Linked DNA regions of Homo sapiens: regions 2, 3, 4, 5, 6 and 7 are each linked to region 1. Evidence: promoter capture Hi-C in 16 types of primary human blood cells and fetal thymus (Javierre and others, 2016). All regions are on one chromosome and are shown on one strand. The core of a region is centred on a gene start or on the middle of the fragment in contact, and the rest is flanking DNA. Distances in the headings are between cores, read along the strand shown. Region 1 holds the start of SEC23A (SEC23 homolog A, COPII component). Region 2 overlaps LOC107984674 (a long non-coding RNA gene). Region 3 overlaps MIS18BP1 (MIS18 binding protein 1). Region 4 overlaps MIS18BP1 (MIS18 binding protein 1). Region 5 overlaps FANCM (FA complementation group M). Region 6 overlaps FANCM (FA complementation group M). Region 7 overlaps FKBP3 (FKBP prolyl isomerase 3).

Region 1 (3,501 bases), core at 663-3,162:
AAGTAAGACTTCCCTGGCCGGGCGCGGTGGCTCACACCTGTAATCCCAGCACTTTTGGAGGCCGAGGAGGGTGGATCATGAGGTCAGGAGATCGAGACCAGCCTGGCCAATATGGTTAAACCCCGTCTCTACTGAAAATACAAAAATTAGCCAGGCATGGTGGCGGTCGCCTGTAGTCCCAGCTACTCAGGCGGCTGAGACAGGAGAATAGCTTAGCTTGTACCTGGGAGGCGGAGGTTGCAGTGAGCCGAAATCGTTCCACTGCACTCCAGCCTGGGTGACAGAGCGAGACTCCGTCTCAAAAAAAAAAAAAACAAAAAAGACTTTCCCTATGATAGTTTTTCAATATTCTAATTTTAAGCCCTTTTATTCATATCTAATTGAAAATGTACTTGCCAAGTAAATTTGAGTTCCTTCCAATTACATGTATTTGTTAGTTGCCAATTAAATTTGTCTCCTACTTTTCACTTCCAAAATCCTCAATGAATTGTCTTCTTATGATCTTGGACAATTAACCTCTCTGAATCCTGTTTTTCTCATCAGCAAAATAAGAGACTTGGACTAGAAAATCACAAGGTCCCATCTAACTCTAAAATTCTGTAAGTCAATTAAAAATAGCTGGACTCTGGCCGGGCGCAGTGGCTCATGCCTGTGATCCCAGCACTTTGGGAGGCCGAGGCGGGCGGATCACCTGAGGTCAGGAGTTCGAGACCAGCCTGGCCAACATGGTGAAACCCCGTCTCTACTAAAGATACAAAAATTAGCCGGGCATAGTAGCTCGCCCCTGTAATCCCAGCTACTCGGGAGGCTGAAGCAGGAGAATCGCTTGAACCAGGGAGGCGGAGGTTGCAGTGAGCCGAGATTGCGCCACTGCACTCCAGCCTGGGCGACAAAGCAAGACTCCGTCTCAGAAAAAAAAAAAATAGCTGGACTTCTGAAATGATGTTCATTCACTACCAGAGGAGAAAGAGAAGGAAAACTCAACATGCATTTATATTTAAATCTAAAACCTTTTTAAACCAAGTTAATTTGGCTAGTTATCCATGGCTTTGGACGGTAGAGGTTGAGGGAGTTCAAGTGAAAACGAGAATTCCACATCCCCACTTCAGTGATTGATGTAGATTTACTATGACCTTCCTCAGGCAGTACCTTTACCACCAAATCGGGAAACACTACCTACCGTAGAAAGAAAGCCCAGTGAGATAGGGCTGGTCCTGCTGGAAAACTGAACTCTTTGTAATCAAAACCCAAGGCATTATCTTTACCAAGCTCTTTTCCCCTTTAACCCCTTTAACTTCCAAGGCTGAATTACGGTGACGTAGTCAATTGGGTTCAAAGTCTAGGACACTCCATATCTGGCAAGGAATGAAACAGTAAGTCCAAGGGCCCAGAGGCGATGATGGACTTGGGTGGAGGTGGGTGGCCCAGGAGGTGGGGGTGGGTGCTGGGCGAGATGCTCGAACCACCGTTTTCCACATCTTTCCACCTAATCCAGGGGAGCTGGAGGAGGCCGGGCCCCCGGCCCCGGCAGAGCGAAGTGGGTGAGAGGGTGGCAAGCTCAGCACTCAACGCTCCCCGCGCCGGACCGGGCCTCAGCCTCCAGCACACCTCGCTGGCCCCGGGGCACCGAGAGGGCAGAGCCGGGACCACCCCAGGATCCCAGCCCCCAGCCCGCCGCCGCCAGCCCGCCCCCGCTCCCCGCTGCGCACCTGCGGTCCCCCAGGAGCGGAGACGAGGCGGCCCTTTCCTCACTGTCCCCCTGCAGGACCCGTCGCAGCCTCCGCTTTGCAAAATCTGTCCTCTCCGCCCAGCAGGAGCAGTCCGTGGCACCGCAATCAGGGGTGGCGCCACCCCGCCCCGGGCCTCAGCGAAGACCTCCGCCCGGCCAACATGGCTGGCGCCGCCTCTGCCACGTCAAGAGGAGGGGACGGGGCGTGAGGGCAGGAAGGGGGCAGGAAGGGGCGGGCGCAGAGTTACCAGGGCAGGCCACCGGACCCCTGAGCTTGCTTAATAACCGGAGGATTTGAGAAAGGCGCGCGGCGGGCGAAGGTACCGAGAGGGGAGGAGGGAGGAGAGGTAGCGGGGACCGAGCCAGAGGGGCGGAAGAACCCGGAAGACCCAGGCAGCCGGACGGCCGAGGGGCGTGGGACCGGGCAGAGCGGGACCGGGAGAGAGCGCCTTTCCCAGCTCCCTAAAGCCACAGCGTATCCCACTCCCTGCAGGTCGCAGAAAGAGTGGAGAACTGGTGCCACTCGGACACCTTAGCTCACCGAGAGAAATGGAGACGGCCTCCAGGACATCTTAGGACCCTGGTTGATTCCGAGAATCACAAATCACATCTCTGAAAAAAGTGAAAAGTTCATTCTTTCACTTAGTGCAACAAATGTTTACTGAAACTTACTATGTGCCAGACACAATTGAGATGCTGGTAATATGATGCAGGCAAAGTAGGCCCAGATCCCTGGCCCGAAAGAATTCACGTACTATTTATGTATTTTAGTCAGCCTGTCTTTTCCTCCTACATTGCCTCTGCCACTTCAACTCTGTCTCCCCCCACCCCCAAAACACACACACAGTACAATATTTGGCTGATTCATCTTGATATGTTCAATGTTTTTCTTTCCAAGAAAAAAGTTGAACAAAATGAGAAAGCAACAGATTGGTAAGACATTAGAGCTTGGTGGTCTCAGACAACCCCTTCCTTCAGTGAGGGGAATGAAATTAAGTGCCCATGGAATTAATTGCATATATGACAACGCCTAAAAGCCTGCAAAGTTTAGCCATATCAACATTTTATGGAATGGAAAAAAAGATCAAGTCCCTGTCCTTGAAAGCTCATATTCATGAGAAATAAGACAGCAGCACCAGGCTGGGCGCGGTGGCTCACGCCTGTAATCCCAACACTTTGGGAGGCGGAGGCAGGCGGATCACAAGGTAAGGAGTTCGAGACCAGCCTGGCCAACATAGTGAAACACCGTCTCTACTAAAAATACAAAAATTAGCCGGGTGTGGTGGCACGCTCCTGTAGTCCCAGCTACTCGGGAGGATGAGGCAGAAGAATTGCTTGAACCCGGGAGGCGGAGGTTGCAGTGAGCCGAGACCACGCCATTGCACTCCAGCCTGGGTGACAGAGTGAGACTGTCTCAAAAAAAAAAGCACCAAACATATTTCCCTTTCTATAATGTGTGTACTAAAGTTGTTTTGGAAGGTGGAAGAGGATGTTTGCTTGTCAAATTGTAATACAATCCTGAAGAGGGCAATGGGAATCGAAAGCCAAAAATTAGTGTAGGCTTCCAAATAAAGTAGGTTCAAGGTGCTACCTTAATGAAGATTCTTAACAGCACACAGCAGAGGTGTTGTTATAAAGGTGGAATAAGTACACCCACCAAAAGCGACAAGATCTAAGAATGAGTAGGATAAAAAGATCTTAGTCCATTTAGGCTGCTAACACAAATGCCCTCAACTGGGTAGCTCATAAACAACAGAAATTTATTTCTGACT
Region 2 (3,501 bases), core at 401-2,900, 6.2 Mb after region 1:
GGTCTCTAATTTCCAGGCTCCAGCGATCCACCCTCCTCAGCCTCCCAGAGTGCTGGGATTACAAGTGTGAGCCACCATGTGTGGCCTGAAATTATATTCTTAGTAACTATTGTCATCCTACAGTGATATAGAAAACTAGAACTTCTTATTCTTATCTAGCTGTAATTTTATAACCTTTAACAAATCTCTCCTTATCCCTCCCTTCTCCCTATCATTCCCAGCCTCTAGTATCCTGTATTCTACTTTTTACTTCTATGAGATGAAATTTTTTAGCTTCCACATATAAGTGAGAACGTGTGATGTTTAATGTTTTGTTCCTGGCTTATTTTTCTTAACATAATGTCCTCCAGCTCCATCTATGTTGTTGCAAATGACAAGATTTCATTCTTTTTTTATAGTTTAATAGTATTCCATTTGTATATACCACATTTTCTTTATCCATTCATTTGTTGTTGAACCCCAGGTGGATTCTAAATCTTGGCTATTGTGAATAATGCTGTAACAAACATGCAAGTACAGTTGTCTCTTAGATATACTAATTTCCTTTCATTTGGATAAATGCCCAATAGTGGGACTGCTGGATTATATGGTACTTCTGTTTGTAGTTGTTTTAGGAACCTCCATCGTATTTTCAATAGTGGCTCTACTGGTTTACATTTCCACAAACAGTGTTTTAAGAGTTCCCTTTCCTCCACATCCATGCCAGAATCTGCTTTTTTTTGTCTTTTTGATGATAGCCGTTCTAACTGGGGTGAAATAAAACCTCATTGTGCTTTTTATTTGCATTTCCCTGATGATTAGTGATGTTGGGCATTTTGTCATGTGTTTCTTGGCGCGCTCTCTCTCTCTCTCTCTCTCTCTCTCTCTTTCTCTCTCACTCTTGCTCTTGCTCTGTTGCCCAGGCTGGAGTGCAGTTGCACAATCTCAGCACACTGCAGCCTCCACCTCCCAGGTTCAAACAATTATCCTGCCTCAGCCTCCCAAGTGGCTGGGACTACAGGTGAGTGTCACTATGCTCGGCTAATTTTTGTATTTTTTCCTAGAAGAGACTGGGTTTCACCATGTTGGCCAGGCTGGTTTTGAACTCCTGGCTTCAAGTGATCCACCTGCCTTGGCCTCCCAAAGTGCTGGATTACAGGTGTGAGCCACCGTGCCCAGCCTGCCATTTTTATATATCTTTTAAGAAATGTCTGTTCAGATCATTTACTCATTTGAAAATCAGATTGTATTTTTGTGCTATTGAGGTGTTTGAGTTCCTTGTATATTCTGGATATTAATCACTTGTCACATGAGTTATTTGCAAATATTTTCTCTCATTTTCTGGTTTGTCTTTTCATTCTGTTGATTGCTTTTTAGTTATATATAATCTCATGTATTTATTTTTGCTTTTATTGCCTGTACTTTTGAGGGCTTATAAAATTTTCCCAGACCAATATTCTGAAGCAGTTCACCTATGTTTTCTTCTAGTAGTTTTATATTTTCAGGTCTTCCATTTATGTATTTGATCCATTTTGAGTAGATTTTTGTATAGGGTGAGAGATGAAGTCTAGTTTTATTCTTCTGCATATGGAGATGCAGTTTTCCCAAGACCATATATTGAAGAGACCATCCTTTCTCCCAATGAGTGTTCTTGGCATCTGTGTCAAAGATTAGTTGATTGTAGATTGTAGATATGTGAATTAATTTCTGGGTTCTCTATTCTGTTCCATTGGTCTATGTGTCTGTTTTTATGCCAGTACCATGCTGTTTTGGTTATTACAGCTTTGTAGTATATTTTACAGTCTGGTAGTGTGAAACCTCCAACTTTGTGCTCAGGATTGCTTTGTTTTTTGTGGTTCTATACAAATTTTAGGATTTTTTTTCTATTTCTGTGAAGAATGTCATTGATATTTTGATGGAATCTGCAGATTGCTTTAGATAGTAAGTTGCTCCTTTTTTTTTTTTTTTTTTTTTGAGACACAGTCTCACTCTGTCACCCAGGCTGGAGTGCGTTGGCACAATCATGGATCACTGCAGCCTTGACCTCGCAGTATAAGTTAACCCCCCGACCTCAGCTTCCTAAGTAACTGGGATGATAGACATGTGCCACAGTGCCTGGCTAGTTTTTGTATTTTATTTTGGTAGAGACAGAGTTTTGCCATGTTGTCCGGGCTGGTCTGGAACTCCCAGCCTCAAGTGGTCTGCCCACTTTCTTGGTTCAGCATTTTCTTGGTTGCTGTAGACCTTTGGCTATTCTCCAGAGCTATCTTGACTCACTACAACCTCCGCCTCCTGGGTTCAAGTGATTCTCGTGCTTCAGCCACTCAAGTAGCTGGTACTACAGGTGTGCACCACCATGCCCAGCTAATTTTTGTATTTTTAGTAGAGACAGGGTTTTGCCATGTTGCCCAGGCTGGTCTCAGACTTCTGGCCTCAAGTCTCCCCCACCTTGGCCTTACAAAGTGCTGGAATTGCAGGCATGAACCACCATGCCCAGCCCTAATCATTTTTTTTTTTATCTCTAATATTGCCATTTAAAGAAAGTTGTATAAGCAAAATCATTATACCTGTAACCTTTTGAGATTGGCGCTTTTTCCCCCCACTTAGTATAATGCCCTTGTATCCAAGTTGTGTGTATCAATAGTTTTGATAGTTTCCTTTTATTGACAGATATACCCACAATTTGTTTAACCATTCATCTATTGATGGGCATTTTGATTATTTCCAGTTTTTTTTTTGCTATTACAAATATAACTGTTATGAAAAATCATAAGATTTTATGTGGACTTAAGTTTCACTTCTCTGGGATAAATGCCCAGGATGGCAATTTCTGGGTAACGTGAGAAGTATTTAGTGTTTTAAAAAAACTGTTAAATTATTTTCCAGAGTGGCTGTACCATTTTGCATTCCTACCAGCAGCAGTATGTGAGTGATCCAGGTTGTTCACATTCTCACCAACATTTGAGTTTTAGAATGATCACTTTGACAGTGTGTGGAGAATTGATTAGAAGTGGATGGCATTCTAGATGAGAATTCTGTCTCAGAAATTTTTGTAGTTGTTATGGTGAGACATGATGAGGGCCTAACCCAAACTCTGAAAGTGGGGATGGGCAGATTGGAGAGAAGTTAAGGGAATGAGTTGACGGAATTAAATGATCAATTTGATGTAGGACTTGGAAGAGAGAAATTTTTAAAGAAAGCCTTCTTGTTTCTGATTTGGGCATTTTGGTGGATAATGGTACCATTTAGAGAAGTAGATAATACTGGAAGAAGGGTTTGTCGGGGGTTGAGAAGATATGTTTAGTTTTAGGCTTGATCATTTTGAATTTACTTTGTAATCCAAGAGGGACCGACCAGTAGGCAGCATGCTACATAGGTCTGAAAATAGCGTAGTCATTAAGGGAATGGATTTTAGAGTCATTTGAGACGGAGTCATTAAGGGATTCCAAATCTGAGTTCTTTCTCTTACTCTCTGTATATCTATTGGCTAGTTACTTTACCTCCATTTTCTCATTAAATGAG
Region 3 (3,501 bases), core at 347-2,846, 6.1 Mb after region 1:
AATTCCAACATTTTTAGGACTGATTCTGGGGAAAGAAAGAGGAAATAGCAAAGAGGACTGAGAAGGGATGGGCAGCAATGTAGCAGAAAATCAGGAACGATCCTGGAATACAAAATATAAAGCGTAACACTTCTTTAGAAAGACATTTTGGGGCCAGGCGTGGTGGCTCACACCTGTAATCATTTCCTTTTACTTTAGGTGGTAAGGACATTGCCCTTTCAATTGCCCCCTCAATTTTCTCCCTACCTACACGCACTCTCTAGGCTGTATTTCCAGTGTCATAGTTTTAAATTCCATCTCTATGCTGATAGCTCTCCAATATGTTTCCAGCACAGAATATTCTTCTCAACTCCAACCATGAATACACAGACCTCTTTCAAATGTCTTGCTATATAAGGGAAACAAAAAGTAGTGTAGCAGCTGGAGTTGGACAGGGGATAAAGGAAAGATGGGCCTTTGTTTGCATGTTTTTAAAAAATGCAGGCCATGTTTCAACATGTTTATATGTTAATGAGAATAATCCAAAAAAAAAAAAATTTAGCCGGGCATGGCAGCATGTGCCTGTAGTCCCAGCCACTCAGGAGGCTGAGGCAGGAGATTTGCATGAACCTGGAAGGCGGAGGTTGCAATGAGCTGAGATTGTGCCACTGCACTCCAGCCTGGGTGACAGAGTGAGACTCTGTCTCCAAAATAAATAAATAAATAGATAGATAAATAAATAAAGTTTAAATATTTTCCAATAATGGGATTTCTAGCGAATATATTGAGATATAAAACCATAACTGGTATGTCACTCTTTAAAATTTAGATGGCTACAAGGGAGGCTTAAGTGGGAGGATTGCTTGAGCCCAAAAGGCTGGCCTGGGCAACAGAGTAAGGCCTCATTTAAAAAATTAATTATTAATTAAAATTTAGATGGAATTTATACATGATCTCAACTTGATAACCACCATCATACATTTAAGAATTAATGGCTGGATGCAGTGGCTCACGCCTCTAATCCCGGCACTTTGGGAGGCCGAGGCGGGAGGATCACTTGAGGTCAGGAGTCAGAGACCAGCTTGGCCAGCACGGTAAAACCCCGTCTCTACTAAAAACACAAAAATTAGCTGGGCATGGTGGCAGGCGCCTGTAATCCCAGCTACTCAGGAGGGTGAAGTAGGAGAATCGCTTGAACCCAGGAAGTGGAGGTTGCAGTGAGCCAAGACCACGCCATTGTGCTCCAGCCTGGGTGACAGAGGAAGACTCCAGCTCAAAAATAATTAATTAATTAATGGGCAAACCTCTAACAATTGGAAATTTTACACTGCATCTTCCTCCTTAAGCTTGTATTTCCATTCCACTTCCTTCAGAGAATTTGTCCTAATGTAACAGTTTAATGCTCTAAAGTCTTTCATTGATTACTCTGTATTTAATTTGGGAAAAATTCTCAAATCTTCAGATGCTACAGTTCCTTTCTATCTTAATTAATCTAACTATTTTAATAGTACTGTAAGTATCAGAAAAAAAAGAGTAGGAATGAATTCAATGTTCATCACCAAAAGGAACAAGTAAATTATTGAAGACTACACAACTAGTAATAGAGCAAAATAAGACTTAACATGTGGGTCTTCTTACATTCAACTCACTGTTCTTTTCACTATGTCACACTGTCACTGCAGTAAATAATAAAACATGATAATGAAGACACTGTTAATAATGAAGCATACAGGTTCAAATCCTAGCTAGAAAAAAAATAATGAGAGAACATTAAAAGCTCAAGCTCTTGAAGAACGGGGTAAAAATAGAAATAAATATCTGTCTTAAAAGTTTTCCCACCTGATTTTTTTTAAGTCCATTTGTAACAGTTTGAAATATTCTTGGAGGAGAAAGCTTTGAAATATTTCTTTTTGACCTCCGAGGTATTGTTATATGAAGTCTTGGTGTTGCAAGTACAATTTTACATGTATCTTTCATGGAACCTGGAAGACCTGTCTCTCCAGGCACTGTTTTTCCATTTCCTTCCTTAACTTTCTGTTGCGAAGTCCCTTCTGTTGTCCTCTCACTATCAGAAACCATTAACAGGCTGCCATTTTTAATAGGAATACAATTAGTACTGAGAGTCTCAGCATTAGTATTTTGAAATTGTTCATCAGCAGAATCAACGCTTTCTAAAACAAACGTGTCCTTTTTGGATTTAGTGGTTGCAACTATACTCTCCTTTGAGTGAAAAATTTGTTTAGCCAACTGAGCTCTAGTTAATGTCTTGTTTCGGGCTTCTACAGCCAAAAAATTTTCCTGTTCTTGGTTCAGAGTTGGAAGTTCTGCAAAAAATACAAAACAAAACAAAACAAAACAATTATAGAAGGATCACAGGAAATTAAAAGAGATAAATTTAGGTTAGGAACGTTCCACCCTCCTGCCCAGTCTTTCTCTGAGTGTCTCTTTTACGATTCAAGCTTTTGTCCACAGCTAAAGTTTAATGCCCACACAAGGAAAGTAATTACCTAGAACATTTAACAATATACTTAAGTAACAAACTGAAAACAAACCAAAAATAGTTTACCGTAAGTTAAATTGTGCAGTGGTGCTTTCTTTTCCTGCTGGCACTGAATCTTTTGTTTGACCGGGAGGAAAATATCATTATTTGATGATTCTAGAGGAACTCCTTGGACTGAGGCTAAGGTTTTATTTTTTAAAGAAAGAAGAAGTTGAATTGTATTAGTCACTAAGAAAAAAACAGCTTTTAAAATTCTTGAAATAAAGACACTTAGATTTAGTAATGATCAGACCAGTATAGTACTTTTGCAATATATGACAGTTACATATATTTTTATATTTTTGGCTGTATTATCTTCTCATACCTTTACCCCATTCTCTATACCAACATTACGGTGAGGAAGAATTTTTTAAAACCTTCTCTGAACACAACCCGCCAGCTCTAGACAAAAGTATTGGACTTAGAAACCTAGAGATCTGAAATTCTGGTGCTGCCACAAATTGGATATGTATATGTTAAGATTACAATATAAAGTTTCACCCAGTCTTGAAAATTCCGATTCTGTTTCTGGTTGCTGTGAATTTCTAAAGCATGAAAGATAGTCGAAGAATTGTAACTTATTCTTTAAAAATTAAAATGTTGAGATGCAACAGCAGACTCAGCCATAATTTATATCCTTTAGACAATTTTTAGTAGGCCTTCAAATGCTCAGAAGTTGTAGGTTTCTCAACTAGATAAATAAGGACTAATAGCACTGCTTGCATCTTATTCTGCTTTACCTCCTAGATTTTTAAAGTTTAATGTTTCTCGAATGTAGTTTCTTTCACACAAAAAGGGGATGATAATAGACTTAAAATTTGAGCCTGAGAAGAATTATCTTATATGTTTAATTTTAAATTTTATACTTGAAAAAACTGGTAGTGACTATGCTTTAATAAGTATGCCACTTTGGTCTCAGAAATCTTAAGATAAAGATTTCATTATAACAACGTGTCACAAAAAGAAACAATAAGTTTCTATAT
Region 4 (3,501 bases), core at 444-2,943, 6.1 Mb after region 1:
TATGATCTATCTTGATGAATGATCAACCTATCCTTGGAAATAACCTATTCTTTTTCTTATTATTGGGTGGAATGTTCTGTAAATGTGAATCATACGAATGACTGATGGTGTTGTTCAGTTCTATATCCCTGCTAATTTTCAGTCAGTTCTATCAAATACCAAGAGAGGAGCAGTGTGGTTTCCTATAACTGTGGATTTGACTATCCTTGTAGTTTAGTCCGCTGCTTTCACTTGTCAGTTTTTAACTCATGTATTTTGAGGTTTTATTGTCAGGTGCATACACACTTAGGAATTTCATGCCTTCCTGGTGACTGACCCTTCTATCATTTGTAATGTCTTTCTTTATTCCTGGTTATTTTCTTCCTACTAAAGTCTATTTTGACAGATATTAATATAGCCACTCAAGCTTTCTTTTGATTTGTGTTTAGACGGTATTTTTCTATCCTTTTAACCTACCTATATCATTATATTTAAAGTGAGTTTGTTGTATACAGCATATAGTTAGATCATGTTTTTAAATTCATTCTGACAATATGTCTTTTAATTGGTATGTTTAGACCATTTAATTTAATTATGTTGGATTTAGGTCAATAATTTTATTATTTGTTTTCTGCTTGTTCCATGTAAAAAAATCCTCCACTTCTCTTCTTCTTTGCCTTCTTTTGGGCTATTTGATTTTCCAGTATTTTAATTTATGTTTGAAATTATTTCTTTGTATAGTTTTTTTAGAAGTTGCTCTAGGGATGACATTAAATATACTTAACTTCAACAGTCTACTTAGAATCAATATTTTACTGCTTCAAGTGAAATGTTAATATTTTTATTTTAGCAGGTCATCAACCTGGTGGTATCCCAAGCTATACGTTCAGTCTACTATCATTGTTGTTTCAATGTCAGTTTCATTTTTCAAAGCTCTGCAGTGCTGTTAGGATCTTCCTGTGTGTGGGACACTGAGTAGCTAGCCTAGAAACTGGGTGTGGTCTACTGTTTAGTTCAGTTCTCAGTCTTTTATATGCTCTTTAGGACCATGTCCACATATGTACAACTCCTGGGTGGCATAGAAGTTCATAAACAACTTTATGGGGTTGCTTTTCCTACTTCCTCTCTTTCCGCGATTTCTGGTTCCCTGGAGTTTCCCTTGTCAGTGCTCTGGCCAGAAAGCTGGGGCTTTTATTACTCTGCTCTGCTGTATGCCTCACACAACTGAATTTTTGTCCAGTACCAAGCAACAGACAACAGAAAGAGAACAGAAGCAACAGGTACTTGCCCCACTACTTTGAGGCAACCATTCCTAATTGTAGAGAAGGTTCTCATCTCTCAGAGTTTTAGATATATCTCAGCCCCAGCTGATGCTGTGACTGTAGCCCCTGCAGGATTGCATGGGGACTGAGTTAAGAGAAAAGACAAAAACAAAACAAAACAAAACAAAACAAAACAAAAACAAACCAAACCAAACACTGGGGATTTCCTCTACTGTTTCTGAGTGTCAGAAGTCCCCCTTTCTGCTCCTCAACCCAGAACTGGAGAGCTCCTCTTTAAACTCTCTTTGTTACCCTTCAGTGCCCACTTCTAGGTTTCTAGTATCCTTGAGTCTCACTTGTGGGGCACCAAACTTTACTATTTATAACACTTGTTAGGCCGGGCACGGTGGCTTATGCCTATAATCCCAGCACTTTGGGAAGCCAAGGTGGGCGGATCATTAGGTCAGGAGTTCAAGACCAGCCTGACCAACATGGTGAAACCTCATCTCTACTAAAAATATAAAAATTAGCCAGGCGTGGCAGCGTGCGCCTGTAGTCCCAGCTACTCAGGAGGCTGAGGCAGGAGAATCGCTTGAACCCGGGAGGCAGAGGTTGCAGTAACCGGGATTGTGGCATTGCACTCCAGACGGGGCAGCAGGGCGAGACTCCGTCTCAATCAAAACAAAACAAAACAAAAAACAAAAAAATGCATTTCTTAAAATATGAAGCTACGTGAGAGAGTACTATTTGGCTATCTTGAAATATTACATGGGAATGAAAAGGTCACTTTTACTTTCCTCATACTTAGGCTTTCCTCGTACTTTCCTCGTATTAGAGATGACCACAAAAATACCACTAGGAGTTATGTGTAGTCTATCTCCATTCCCTGTGCAAATTATAATTTCTCCCTTTTTTTTAATGACATCTTCCATGTTAACCCCTTATTGCTATTTTTATGTCTTTAACTGTCTTGTGGCTGCTCTGTAGATATTTCGGAATGAAATCTAACTACTTACCAATGAAGTTTCTGTAACTCCTTCTCATTCCATTCCTTATCCTGAATTAAACCAGGTAAGCATTCTAAGGGATGCCTATTTGTCTTATCAGATCCTACTGCCTCAGTAATTGGAAACTCTTTCCTAACACCAGACTTCTGAAGAGTTTCTTTGACGGAAGGTCTAGCTTTCTTTTGTTTGATATAAAATTCATTTTCACTTTCTTCAGTTTCAGGTTCCAAAATCACTGGAATATTACTTGTGTTTCTTGTGCTCTTTCTCAGGTGAACCACTGCTTCTTTGGTGTTTCCTGCTTTGGTTTTCTTAACTTCAGCTTTCCTTTTAATTTCCTTTTCTGTTTCACTTTCTTCACTTGACAAATCTGGTGAGGACTGATGCTTATAAAATGACATAGCTACCTGATTTTCTATTTTCTTCAATTTTGGTAATAGTCTGGTATTTTTCTTAAAGTCAGAGGTGAGCATTTGTTCCTTTTCAAGGTTAGATATTTTTATTTTCCGGTTGACAGTAAGTAAGTCACGTTCATCGCAATCTTCCTTGTTTTTACTTTTATGACCTTCAAATGTATTTTCTAAAGTCCCCATGGACTTGCTGATGGGACTTTTTTTTTGACACTCTGGTATTACAAAATCTGTTACTGCTTTGATGGTGCCAGCGGACAGATTATACCTCATGCATCTTTGCTCTATCACTTTTCTAGATTTAAGTGGTGTTACTAAAATATAAGCTTTCTTCTGATTGATGGCCATGTATTTTCTTTCTTCATCTGAGAAAAACTGTTCCCTTGAGGTTAGAATATCAATGGATACATCCAATTCTTCAGTTGTCTCTTTAATTTCATAAGACAAAACCAAAGACCAAAATCTCAAATTAGCTATAAACAAATATAAGCACAGAAAATATATTTTCACAAATAAAAGATACTATTTTTATCCACGAGCTACACTGTATACCCACCTGTCATATTAATCTTTCTGAAGCCCAGGTCTATTCAGACCACTGCCCCTTCAACTGTAAACATATACTATTGTTTATACAAACCTGACAGTGACTTCTCACAGTCTTTTAGTAGACATATAAATAAGCTCCTCTGCCTGGCCTTCCACATAGTTCCAATCTCTCACTGTTGTCAAAATCTCAACTATATTCTATGTTCAGAACCACACCACTTGCTATTTCTCAGATTTTCTTGGTTCTCCACTTTTAATAATGTTGTCCACTCTGCTTTGAAGATGTTCTTCATT
Region 5 (3,501 bases), core at 742-3,241, 6.1 Mb after region 1:
GAAAGTGAGAAAAAATGTTTATTTTTTGGATTTTACTTAATCTCTGAAGTGGGTTTTAAACAATCATAAAAATCATATAACTAACATTTGGAAGGAACCTTGGGAGTCATGTGGTCCAATTACTTATCAAGGTAGGAATGCTTCTGCATCATTCTTGTTTTAAATGCATAGCCAGTCTCAACTTGAATACCTCTGTTAATATAAATTATATTTCTTTAGAGGGTTCATTCCATTGTTGAACGGCCCTGTATAGTAGAAGACTCTTACGCTGAAAAATCTGTGTCTTTGTACCTTTTTCTCATTGATCTGGTTTCTTAGATAAAAAGTACAGTTTTCATCTTTGGTTTACCTTTATAACAGTTCTCTATATATTTGAAGGCCATACCTTTTATGTTTGTTCAACTGTTTGTTCCACTGTTGTCATACCATGCATTTTTAAGGTTCTTACCCTCCTACTACTTGCTTTCAATTCAGATTTGTTAATGTTCTTTCCCTTAACTCAGAGCCGTCAATCAATGTTTTTTTGGCTATGTCTATTAAACTTAATACAAATGCACTTAATAGGAACATACCTGTCATTTTTCAAGATTTTGCCAATTATTTGGTTAAAATAAAAACACAGCATGTCTTTTGAGTTTTCTTGAATTTGATAAATTAATAAAAGCATCAAAACTTGATTAGGTTGGATAAATCATTTTTAGTGATCATTATATTTTTTATAGTTGCTAATTAATCTTATATTTAATAATTATTTCTAAAATGTTACTGAGGTCGATGGCAAATTCTTTAGTGAATATCTGGAACCTATCCTTTTAAAAAATTGAGATAATGTTAACTTATGTTCATTTTTCTATACTTGTTTCTTCCCCTTTTCTCTGATTTTTCAAGTGTCAAAGATTTATCTTAGATTATGTGATTTATGTATGGAATAATTCTATAATTCTGTACTAGTATATAAATACACTAGTGTATTTATACTAATATATAAAATATATACTAGTGTATTTACTATGTATTTTGCTAATGTATGCTAACTATATACTAGTGTTTATACATAGTATATATTTTATATATATTAAAATATATAGTATATATTATATACTATATATAGTATATGTAGTATTATATATAGTGTATTTGTAGTATATATTATATACACTAGTATGTAATTCATCTGAGCTTAGAGCTCTGAATTGACTATTTTTTATTTTATTTTATTTTTTTGAGACAGTCTCGTGTTGTCGCCCAGGCTGGAGTGCAGTGGCATGATCTCGGCTCACTGCAACCTCTACCTCCCAGGTTCAAGCAATTCTCCTGCCTCAGCCTCCCAAGTAGCTGGGATTACAGGCACATGCCACCACACCTGGCTCATTTTTACGTTTTTAGTAGAGACGGGGTTTCTCCGTGTTGGCCAGGCTGGTCTTGAACTCCTGACTTCAGGTGATCCACCTACCTAGGCCTCCCAAAGTGCTGGGATTACAGGCATGAGCCACTGTACCCAGCCACTCTGAGTTTATTTTAAGGGACTGGGGGTACCTGCCTATTTCGAAATCTTAGAGTCTCTGGATGTCAGGTCTGAAAGGGGCCTGAGAGATCATTTAGTTCAAACCCCCTTATTTTACAGATGAGGAAACAGATGCAGAGAAGCCTTTTATTTATTTATTTGTTTTTTTTTTTTCATTTTTAATTTTTTATTTTTTACATTTTTAAAAAGCTTCTTACACAAGTTTGGAATACCTGAGACATGATCCTAGCTCATCATGAAGCCTCAACTCCTGGGCTTAAGAGATCCTCCTGTCAGCCTCCTGTGTGGCTAGGACTACAGGGATGCAACACCATGCCCAGCTAATTTTATTTTATTTTTTTAGACTTGGGGTCAAGCTGTGTTGCCTAGGCTGGACTCAAACTCCTGGCCTTAATTGATCCTCCCTCCTCGGCCTCCCAAGGAGGAGGTGTCAGCCACTGCACCCAGCCAGTTTCCTGATTTTTAATTCAGTAGCGTCTCAATTTTTCTGCTCTCATCTGTATTAGCCAGAGTTACTGCTTTGTACTATTTAGCCTTTTCAGTTTGGTGATTCTTAGAGATTATAGAAGCTGAAAAGAATGAATATACTATACATATTTTTAAAAGTCTATTATGTCCTTTTTTAAAGCAACAAGTCTGTTCCCCCTACACTTTACTCATTTTGCCCCAACCCCCATTTAAGACTTAAGATACATACTCCTTTTAAAAGTCTTGGCCTTTCCTGCCCACTCTCAACACCCCCACCAAGCTTCAGATGAACTTTCCAATACTGCTATGATAGAATCATAATACCAGTTTTTCATTTGTGAGTTATCTTACTCTGTTTCATGCCAGGTCTTAGGCAACCAAATGAAAAGAGTCCAAAAGAAGCCAGGACTGAGAGCCAAGGTACCTGGCTCTGTTCTGTTAATGGATTCATTACCAAAGGATAGCTCCTAGACAGATGGGTACTTTCAGAGGTAAGAGAAGTTTAGGAGACATTTAGAAGCATGAAGTAATAAACTGAGTGGTTTTTTATGAAGAATACTAGTTTTAAGGAATAGAATCAAGGCTGAGGTAGGATCAGTTGAGCCCAGGAGTTTGAGACCAACCTGGGCAACATATCAAGACTTCATCTCTACAAAAAATAAGAAAAGTAGATGGGCCTGGTGGCATGAGCCTGTATTCCAGCTCCTGTGGAGGCTGAGGCAGGAGGATTGCTTGAACCCAGGAGTTTGAGGTTACAGTGAGTTATGAATGTGCTGTTGCACTCCAACCTGGGTGACAGAGTTTGAATGGATATTGTGGGTTTTTTTGCTTTGCAGATTTTTAAAAAGTCTCTTTTCCATTATTTTTTCAACTTATAGGAATGAGGCAAAGTAGCCTAAAGAAAGATTGGTTCTTATCAGAAGAAGAATTTAAATTATGGAACAGACTTTATAGATTAAGGGACAGTGATGAAATTAAAGAGATAACATTGCCTCAAGTTCAGTTTTCTTCTTTACAAAATGAGGAAAACAAACCAGTAAGTTGAATATATTTTCAGATGTTCTTTTCCCCCCCCTCATTTTAATGCCAGAACCCCTCAGATGTTCTTTATAATGATCAAGCAATAGCTTTGGGAATAATGAGATAATTGTGATTGGAATGTCAACTTACTTTAAGAAATTAAGAATGTAATCAGTGTAAGAAATCATTAAAGTCTAAGTTTACAAAACTACTAATTTTCTTCTATTATTTATTGTATATATGTATTTAACCAACTGTGATATTTTTACATAAATTATGCCTTTCTTTCATTACTGTCATTTAAACATTTCTATATAGGCATAATCTTACATGGTTGTCACTTTACTCTGTGATATACCATAGTTTGCTTGACTATTTACCTATTGTGTTTTGGGATTCTTTTCAACTTTTTTTTTTTTTTTTAAGAGATGAGGTCTCGCTCTGTTGTCCAGGCTGGCCATCAGCTCCTGGACTCAAGTGATCCTCCT
Region 6 (3,501 bases), core at 341-2,840, 6.0 Mb after region 1:
AGGAACTTTTTGGACATTTACAAATATTCTTATTTCTCGGATGCTTGGCTTGAAGGTCTGTGTGGGGAAAAGATGTTTCGGAAGCACTTTTCACCTGTTGTGCTACTTCTGATGTACTTTTTTTATAGGCTTATCTTCTTTCTTTTTTGTTACTTAATGATATAAATTTCTGGTGCTTCTTTCAAAATTTTACTGCTATTTTATTTCTGTTAGTGACTTAAACTAAAAAATTTTAACATGTAGTTTATAATCATACTTAATTGATTTCATATAGGCTGTGCAACAAGTTATTACTAACCTGCTAATTGGGCAGATAGAGCTTCGTTCTGAAGATTCTCCAGATATTTTGACATATTCTCATGAAAGAAAAGTTGAAAAGCTTATTGTTCCGCTTGGTGAAGAACTTGCAGCCATCCAAAAGACCTATATCCAGGTAAACCATTTTTATGACATTTAGGGATTTCATAAATAAACTGGTAATTGAATTATTTCAGCTAACAGGATTTGGATGTGATAATATAGTTATCTTATTTTTATATAATTGATATGTTGAAAAAATTCTTTGAAGTTAAAATTTTTGGAATGAGCACTGTGTTTTGTATGTACTAGCAAACTGTTATTGAAAGGGAAAATACAAAAGATGGGCCATTTGTAAAGCAAATAATAGCCTTACATGGTTTTGTATTTTTTTAAGTAAACCTTATAACTGGAATATAGAACATGCACACACACACACACACACACACAAACAGCAAAAGTAGACAAAGCATAAGTGTATTGCTCAGTGAATTTTCACAAATTGCACACACCCGTAACATGAACACGTACTGAGATTCAGCCAGAAGTTTCTTTGTTTTCTTTTTGTTGTTTTTTGTTCAGCTCACTGCAGCTTCCACCTCCCTGGTTCAAGCAGTTCTCCTTAGCCTCCCAAGTAGCTGGGATTACAGGCACATGCTACCACATCTGGCTAATTTTTATATTTTTGAATAGAGACGAGGTTTCACCTTGTTGGCCAAGCTGGTCTTGAACTCCTGACCTCAAGTGATTTTCCTGCCCCGACCTCCCAAAGTGCTGGGATTACAGGTGTAAGCCACCATGCGCCCGGCCCCCAGAAGTTTCTTTGTATTGAAATATATTTTCACTGTTGTCCTCCCTGATCTTTATGCAGCAGTGCTTTTCATCTGGAAATTACTTCACCTACCTGGCAACATTTGGCAATGACTTGACACATTTTTGGTTCTTACAACAACAACAACAACAACAAAAAGGCAGGAGAGAAGGGGGAGGTAACAGGTGAAATGTGGAGTTATTATTGGCATCTAGTATATGGAGGCCAGGAATCAGCTAAACATCCTACAATGGATAGGACAGCAACCCCACAACAAAGAATTATCTGGCTCAAATGTCAATATTATAGCTGTTAAGGACCTGCTTAGACAATTGTCATTTTCACTGGGAGAAATTTGTGGTAACACATTGTTTTTCTGTAGTTCATAATTAGTGTCATGGTTGAACAACATGGTTTCACATTTTCATTGCCATGGATTAAAGATGGTTACAGAAATAGATAACCAAAAAGTTATCTGTCACTTAATCTATAGTAAGCCTTTCTTAAAGAGACATTTTGTAGTAATACAGCTTTTTTGTTTTTAAATTGTTTGTAACAAAATTCTAAGCATTATTGAGTTAAGATATGGCAAAGTCTTTTTGTAATTGTCTCTTTGATACTAGTGCATTTTTAATTGAAAATCATTCCATTTATAACAATGTAAATATGATAATTCTTATAATCATATACAAATGTAATTTAATTTTGTTAGTATTTTTAGAGTGCCTTATTAGGCAGTATGATCAGCAAAGTTGGAAGGGAGGAAAAAAAATGTATTAAACTAGCCATAATTTAGAAAATACAAATTAGGCAAAAATTTAAACACTTACATACTGCGGTAGTAGGTCTTCATCTATAGGTCTCCTTTTGTGCCATTAAGCTCATTTCCGCCTCAGGACTTTTTGTTTGCTGTCTCCTCTCTCTGGAATCCTTTGTCCTTAGAACCTCACATGGTAGACATACCTTATCATTCACATGTGAACTCAAATGTTCTCTTCTCAAAGAGAGTCTTTGTTCACCTTATTTAATAATGATCCCTTTCCTCTCAAAGACTCTACAGCATTATTGTGTTTTAGATTCTTAAATGCATTTGTTATAATGAAAATGATCTACTTTCTTTGTTCGCTTCTTTATTCTTCGGTTCCCTCCATTGGAATGTAAACTATATGAGAGCAGTGACAAATAAAGTCTTAGCCACACTATCCCCAGCATTTAGAACAGTGCCTGTTACATAGTAGATGGTTAATAAATATTTGTTGAAAAAAATGCATCAGTGAGTAAAATTAAATATATTCAGGACATTTCAATTTATTCAGTACTTTACAAACTACTCTACAAATATCTGCTGAGGACCTAAGTGCCAAACTGGTCTAGATACTGAGGATGTAACAGTGCAGAAATCAAAGGTCTTCGTTCATGGTACTTACACTTAGATTATAGTGTGTGTAGGTTGAGAGAGAGAGGAGTTAAGAAATAAACAGATAAACGAATGTGTTGTTAAATTACAGTTGTATATAATAATTGCTTATGTTGATTTTTATATGGATATTATTTGGGGATAGATGTCAAGTAGTTTTAAATGTTATCATTGCTGAGTTTACTTAAACATTCATTGTAAGACAAACTTTATTAAATATATAATTCCTATTTTAATATGTGAGAAAATGATTGTACTTGAAAAAGGACTTTAGAGCAAGCTTAAACTAGATTGCTTTTAAATTTGCAGATTTTGGAATCATTTGCTCGTTCTTTGATTCAGAGGAATGTTTTGATGAGAAGGGATATCCCAAATCTAACAAAATATCAGATAATTCTGGCAAGAGATCAGTTTAGGAAAAACCCATCTCCGAATATTGTGGTAGGTATTTTTAAATAAATTTTGATGACAGATTAAATTTTCACTGAAAGCCAGGATAAAACATAGGTAATGATATTTTGGGTACCTATTAGCTCATCAATAATTGAAAAATGAGGCCGAACACAGTGGCTGATGCCTGTAATCCTAACAGTTTGGGAGGCCAAGGTGGGAGGATCACTTGAGCCCTGGAGTTCAGGACCAGCCTGGGCAACATAGTGAGGCCCTGTCTCTGCAAATGTAAAAGAAATAGCCAAGTGTGGTGGTATGTACCTACTCAGGAGCCTGAGGCAGGGTAGGATTGCTTGAGCCTGGGTGGTCGAGGCTGCAGTGAGCTGTGATTGCAGCATTGCATTCTAGCCTAGGTGACAGAGTTAGACCTGTCTTAAAAAAAAAAAAAAAAAAAAAATCAGAAATGTTTATATAGTTTATAAAAGCATGAGAAAAATCTGCAAGAATACAATGTAATGATTTGAATTAGGATAAATTTTACCTTTTAACTTTTTCTTTTTTTTTTTTTTGAGACAGAATTTCGCTC
Region 7 (3,501 bases), core at 477-2,976, 6.0 Mb after region 1:
AAACGTCTAAATTACACCTTTGAAACTGAGTATATATTTTATTCTTAAAGCACATTTCAGTTCAAAGTAGCTAAAGCACTCTGTAGCCACATATTGTTAGTAACTACCATACTGAACGGGGCAATTCTAGACAACACTCAATTACTGAAGATTTTTCAGCAGGGTGTGGTTTGCAAAGTATTGTTTTAGAAATCTTATTAGAATACCCATTTTGTTGCTGACTGGATAAAGAAAGAGAAGGGAGGCAAGAAATGAACAACGTTTTTAACATTCTGGGTATGAGGCCTTGCTTCGAATGCTTGAAAATGGAAAAGGAATGAACGTTTAAAATAAAAGGAAGATGTTTGAGAGCATTAGTCCTGAAGGAGACATGAGAAAGAAAAAGGGACGCAAAGATTCAGAGAAATTTTAAGCTCAGAAGAAGGGAATGGCAATGGCTAGACATTCACATTTTGGCACTACAGAACACAGGAGCATATAATGAGAAGGGAGTCCAGGGGCAGTGGCTCACGCCTGTAATCCCAACACTTTGGAAGGCCTAGGTGGGCGGATAACTTGAGGTCAGGAGTTCAAGACCAGCCCAGCCAACATGGAGAAACTGCGTCTCTATTAAAAATACAAAAATCAGCTGGGCATGGTGGCGCCTGCCTGGAGTCCCAGCTACTGGGGAGGCTGAGGCAGGAGAATCACTTGAACCCAGGAGGGGGAGGTTGCTGTGAACCAAGATGGCACCACTGCACTCCAGCCTGGGTGAGACTTTGTCTCAAAGACAAAAACAAAAACAAAAAAAGAGAAAGGAGTAAGAAGGGACTGAGAATTTGTGAGAAAATGTCAAATACTTTATGTGAGCAATGAGCAATGTGATGGAGAACTGGGCAAAGGATAGTATAAATGTTGTTGAGTAGCAATGAAACTAGAAAACATGCTTGGCTAATATTAAGCATGAATTTATACCAGGCTCAATAAAAGGTTTTATGATTATATGTTTATAATGCCTGCTCTCCAGTCCCAAAGCATGAAGACAGAGAGTAGACAACGAGGGTTAGCAAGGAAATGGACAAGAGGCTTTTGAATGTAGGACGCTAGGAAAACAGTCACAGTACATAAATGGGCTCAAGCTGGCCAGTTAAACGAAGAGGTTTTAAATAAAATGATAGAGTTTAGGACCCTCATAAGCTTGCTCTAGATTGTCTCTAGCTCTTATGAATTTACCTTTTATTTTCTTAACTCCTTAATGAAATATTATCTGTCTCCTAAAACCATCCTCATTCTAATTTCCTGGAGGGTGAACTATGTTGCCAGTTGCTTCTGAAACCCTTCAATAATAATTGCTCCATTTACCTTAGTAGCTACTCAATAGATATAACATTTATTAAATATTAATTGTGATAAACTTTAAAACTGCTTTGTGTGCACATATACCTATAAACATTAATTTGTGCTTTTTAGCCAATAGGAAAAGATCATGCAAAATTAACTAGCTTTAATCAAATAAACATCTATAATTGTATAACTGAACTTACACTTTCCACAAATACCCAAAAGCTACACTGTCATCAATAGCCTCACCTCTTTACAAGAACTAAAAATAGATTATTATCACTGATACTAAGACTGCTGGCAATGAGTGAGCTTAGATAGTAAGGTATTATCAGAAATGACAAGATTATAATCAATTCAGCTCTGCTAAGTCAGTTCTTAGTAGCTGATCTTAGCTCTACTAAGGCTGTCAATTTGCAGGAATGAATTAATCTGGTTCTTCAAACCTTTGTACCAAAGTATAAAACCTGAGTTGGGAAAACTGAGACAGATGAACCCACATCCTGCAGCCAAGCCTGGATTATTTCTATTGCCAGGGACACCATGTACATTAGAAAAAGCTAAAAATAATCAAAAGAAAATGTATTTCACTTAGTCCAACTTGGCTATAGAATCAAGGCCTTAAAATAGCTTTGAAAGCTCAGAAGGTCTGGACAGATGTGGAGGCGATATTAAATACAATATCAGAAGTGTTTCACAGAATAGGCTAATAACTGTAAAGCACTAGTTCTTAGGATTATTTCTGTCCCAGTACACCTAAGGGAAATGGCCCACTACATTAAGTGTTTGGCTCATTGAAAGTGGTCGTATTCAACCACCCTTCACTATGAGAAGTTAGTGCAAATAATAAAGAAATAAATACAATTTCTAGACTCCACATGATAAAATAAAAAAATAATTATATACAGACCTCATCCAGGGTCTCTTCAGACTTGGTTTCTTTGGGTTTATCTTCATTAAGCTTCACATTTTTTACTTGCTCAGACACTTTACTTATACTTTCAGTACCCTTAAAACGCTGTAAGGAAAATGTTGTAACATCATACCCAGGACAGGCTAAAACCAAGAAGCAACATCAAGATTTTCAGCCTCTCAATTAAATGAACATCTGCATAATAAATATAGGTTGTATAACACAATTGTGAATAAATGGTCTAAGGAAACGAAGAGCAAAGAAAGAATTTTGCTCATAATTTATTTTTAAACAATAAATGATTACCCTCAAACCAGCTTACAATATAAATTCTGAAATGAGAACCATGACCTTAGAAAGGCCAACTCATACCCAGAGATATAAGCACTATTCAAATAACTCCTAAATAAAGATTTCTTTCCTGTGGAAGATATTCATTTCATAGTAAACAAATGTGGGAGAATGTCTTAAAATGTATTTTTGTAAAGCTCAGCCTAAATCTAAACCAGACTTTAAATTCATTAGTGAAATGGAAACTTATTTTCAATATAACATTTAACATATATAATAAAACAACAACAAAATACATTTAATATACACCATATGCTAAAGTAATACGGTAATACCACTGACCTAATGAATTTATAACTTCAGTGGACTTAAGAATTTGTTGTCTCAATTTAAGCTACAAAATCCAGACCCTTTGAAAATACTGAAACATTCTGCCATACTGCAGATTAGCCTTGCTAGATTTGACAGCTAGTCCACTTATGATAACAGTTCAGAAAAATTACAGGTGGAAAAGCTCCAACACATTCAACAAATCAATGCATTTTAAACATCTTTTTTGGAAATAAAATTTCAAAAGTGATGTTCTGCTAACAGAATCTAACAATACTCACCTTAGTTTCAAAAAGATGGTTATAGGCTGTAACCAAGTGGTCCTTGTTAGCTGTCTTGGCCACATTTTTAATGTTTCCTAATAATTTATGTTCTGCAAGAAACTATAAGGAAAAAAGCTGGGTAATCAAGATAACTTCTCCCGAGTAAGAAGTGTCTAAAATTAGAAAACGATCCTTTTATGTTAGCAGTTGTGTTTTCAGTAGTACTAGTACTGAAGAAGAAATAAAGCCTATAGTTTATACTCTTTGTTACAAAAAAAGTAAGAGATTTTTTAAAAATTCGGTATTTACAAGAATTAGTGACAAGACTGCAACTGTAGTGTTATGTACTGAACACAGTGTTTCATCCTAAACTTTTTCCTGTCA

What was found. The method cuts DNA at HindIII sites, captures the fragments that hold promoters and counts their contacts. A CHiCAGO score of 5 or more calls a contact.
Region 2: a contact is called between a fragment that was not itself captured here and the fragment with the promoter of SEC23A in region 1, in 2 of 17 cell types (total CD8 T cells and non-activated CD4 T cells). The highest score is 5.4, in total CD8 T cells.
Region 3: a fragment that was not itself captured here is called in contact with the fragment with the promoter of SEC23A in region 1 in 4 of 17 cell types (non-activated CD4 T cells, naive B cells, M2 macrophages and 1 more); the score reaches 13.0 in non-activated CD4 T cells.
Region 4: a contact is called between a fragment that was not itself captured here and the fragment with the promoter of SEC23A in region 1, in 3 of 17 cell types (total B cells, non-activated CD4 T cells and M1 macrophages). The highest score is 10.2, in total B cells.
Region 5: a fragment that was not itself captured here is called in contact with the fragment with the promoter of SEC23A in region 1 in 4 of 17 cell types (total B cells, naive CD8 T cells, activated CD4 T cells and 1 more); the score reaches 10.2 in total B cells.
Region 6: a fragment that was not itself captured here is called in contact with the fragment with the promoter of SEC23A in region 1 in 3 of 17 cell types (naive CD8 T cells, total CD4 T cells and naive CD4 T cells); the score reaches 11.7 in naive CD8 T cells.
Region 7: a contact is called between a fragment that was not itself captured here and the fragment with the promoter of SEC23A in region 1, in 11 of 17 cell types (total B cells, non-activated CD4 T cells, total CD4 T cells and 8 more). The highest score is 25.4, in total B cells.

Annotation. Positions count from the first base shown.
Region 1 is chr14:39,101,323-39,104,823 of GRCh38, forward strand. SEC23A (SEC23 homolog A, COPII component) reads right to left here and starts at 1,913. Exons shown (of 20, transcript NM_006364.4): 1 at 1,710-1,913. It overlaps SEC23A-AS1 (SEC23A antisense RNA 1), which reads left to right and starts at 1,818. Exons shown (of 2, transcript NR_146545.1): 1 at 1,818-2,049; 2 at 2,223-2,490. RefSeq lists silencers at 1,519-1,598, 1,619-1,738, 1,899-2,128. The HindIII fragment of the contact is 19,881 bases long and covers 1-3,501 here.
Region 2 is chr14:45,261,997-45,265,497 of GRCh38, forward strand. All of the region lies in intron 2 of LOC107984674 (a long non-coding RNA gene), which reads left to right. Among named protein-coding and RNA genes, the nearest start is that of MIS18BP1, 11 kb to the left of the region's middle. The HindIII fragment of the contact is 4,164 bases long and covers 1-3,501 here.
Region 3 is chr14:45,240,216-45,243,716 of GRCh38, forward strand. It overlaps MIS18BP1 (MIS18 binding protein 1), which reads right to left. Exons shown (of 17, transcript NM_018353.5): 3 at 2,546-2,659; 4 at 1,819-2,303. Among named protein-coding and RNA genes, the nearest start is that of MIS18BP1, 11 kb to the right of the region's middle. The HindIII fragment of the contact is 547 bases long and covers 1,324-1,870 here.
Region 4 is chr14:45,221,661-45,225,161 of GRCh38, forward strand. MIS18BP1 (MIS18 binding protein 1) reads right to left here. Exons shown (of 17, transcript NM_018353.5): 11 at 2,258-3,086. Among named protein-coding and RNA genes, the nearest start is that of MIS18BP1, 30 kb to the right of the region's middle. RefSeq lists an enhancer at 1,230-1,279. The HindIII fragment of the contact is 2,578 bases long and covers 405-2,982 here.
Region 5 is chr14:45,167,718-45,171,218 of GRCh38, forward strand. FANCM (FA complementation group M) reads left to right here. Exons shown (of 23, transcript NM_020937.4): 12 at 2,872-3,029. Among named protein-coding and RNA genes, the nearest start is that of FANCM, 34 kb to the left of the region's middle. The HindIII fragment of the contact is 559 bases long and covers 1,713-2,271 here.
Region 6 is chr14:45,148,563-45,152,063 of GRCh38, forward strand. FANCM (FA complementation group M) reads left to right here. Exons shown (of 23, transcript NM_020937.4): 4 at 275-433; 5 at 2,835-2,966. Among named protein-coding and RNA genes, the nearest start is that of FANCM, 14 kb to the left of the region's middle. The HindIII fragment of the contact is 2,426 bases long and covers 378-2,803 here.
Region 7 is chr14:45,127,564-45,131,064 of GRCh38, forward strand. FKBP3 (FKBP prolyl isomerase 3) reads right to left here. Exons shown (of 7, transcript NM_002013.4): 2 at 3,136-3,237; 3 at 2,231-2,338. Among named protein-coding and RNA genes, the nearest start is that of FKBP3, 5.2 kb to the right of the region's middle. The HindIII fragment of the contact is 1,105 bases long and covers 1,175-2,279 here.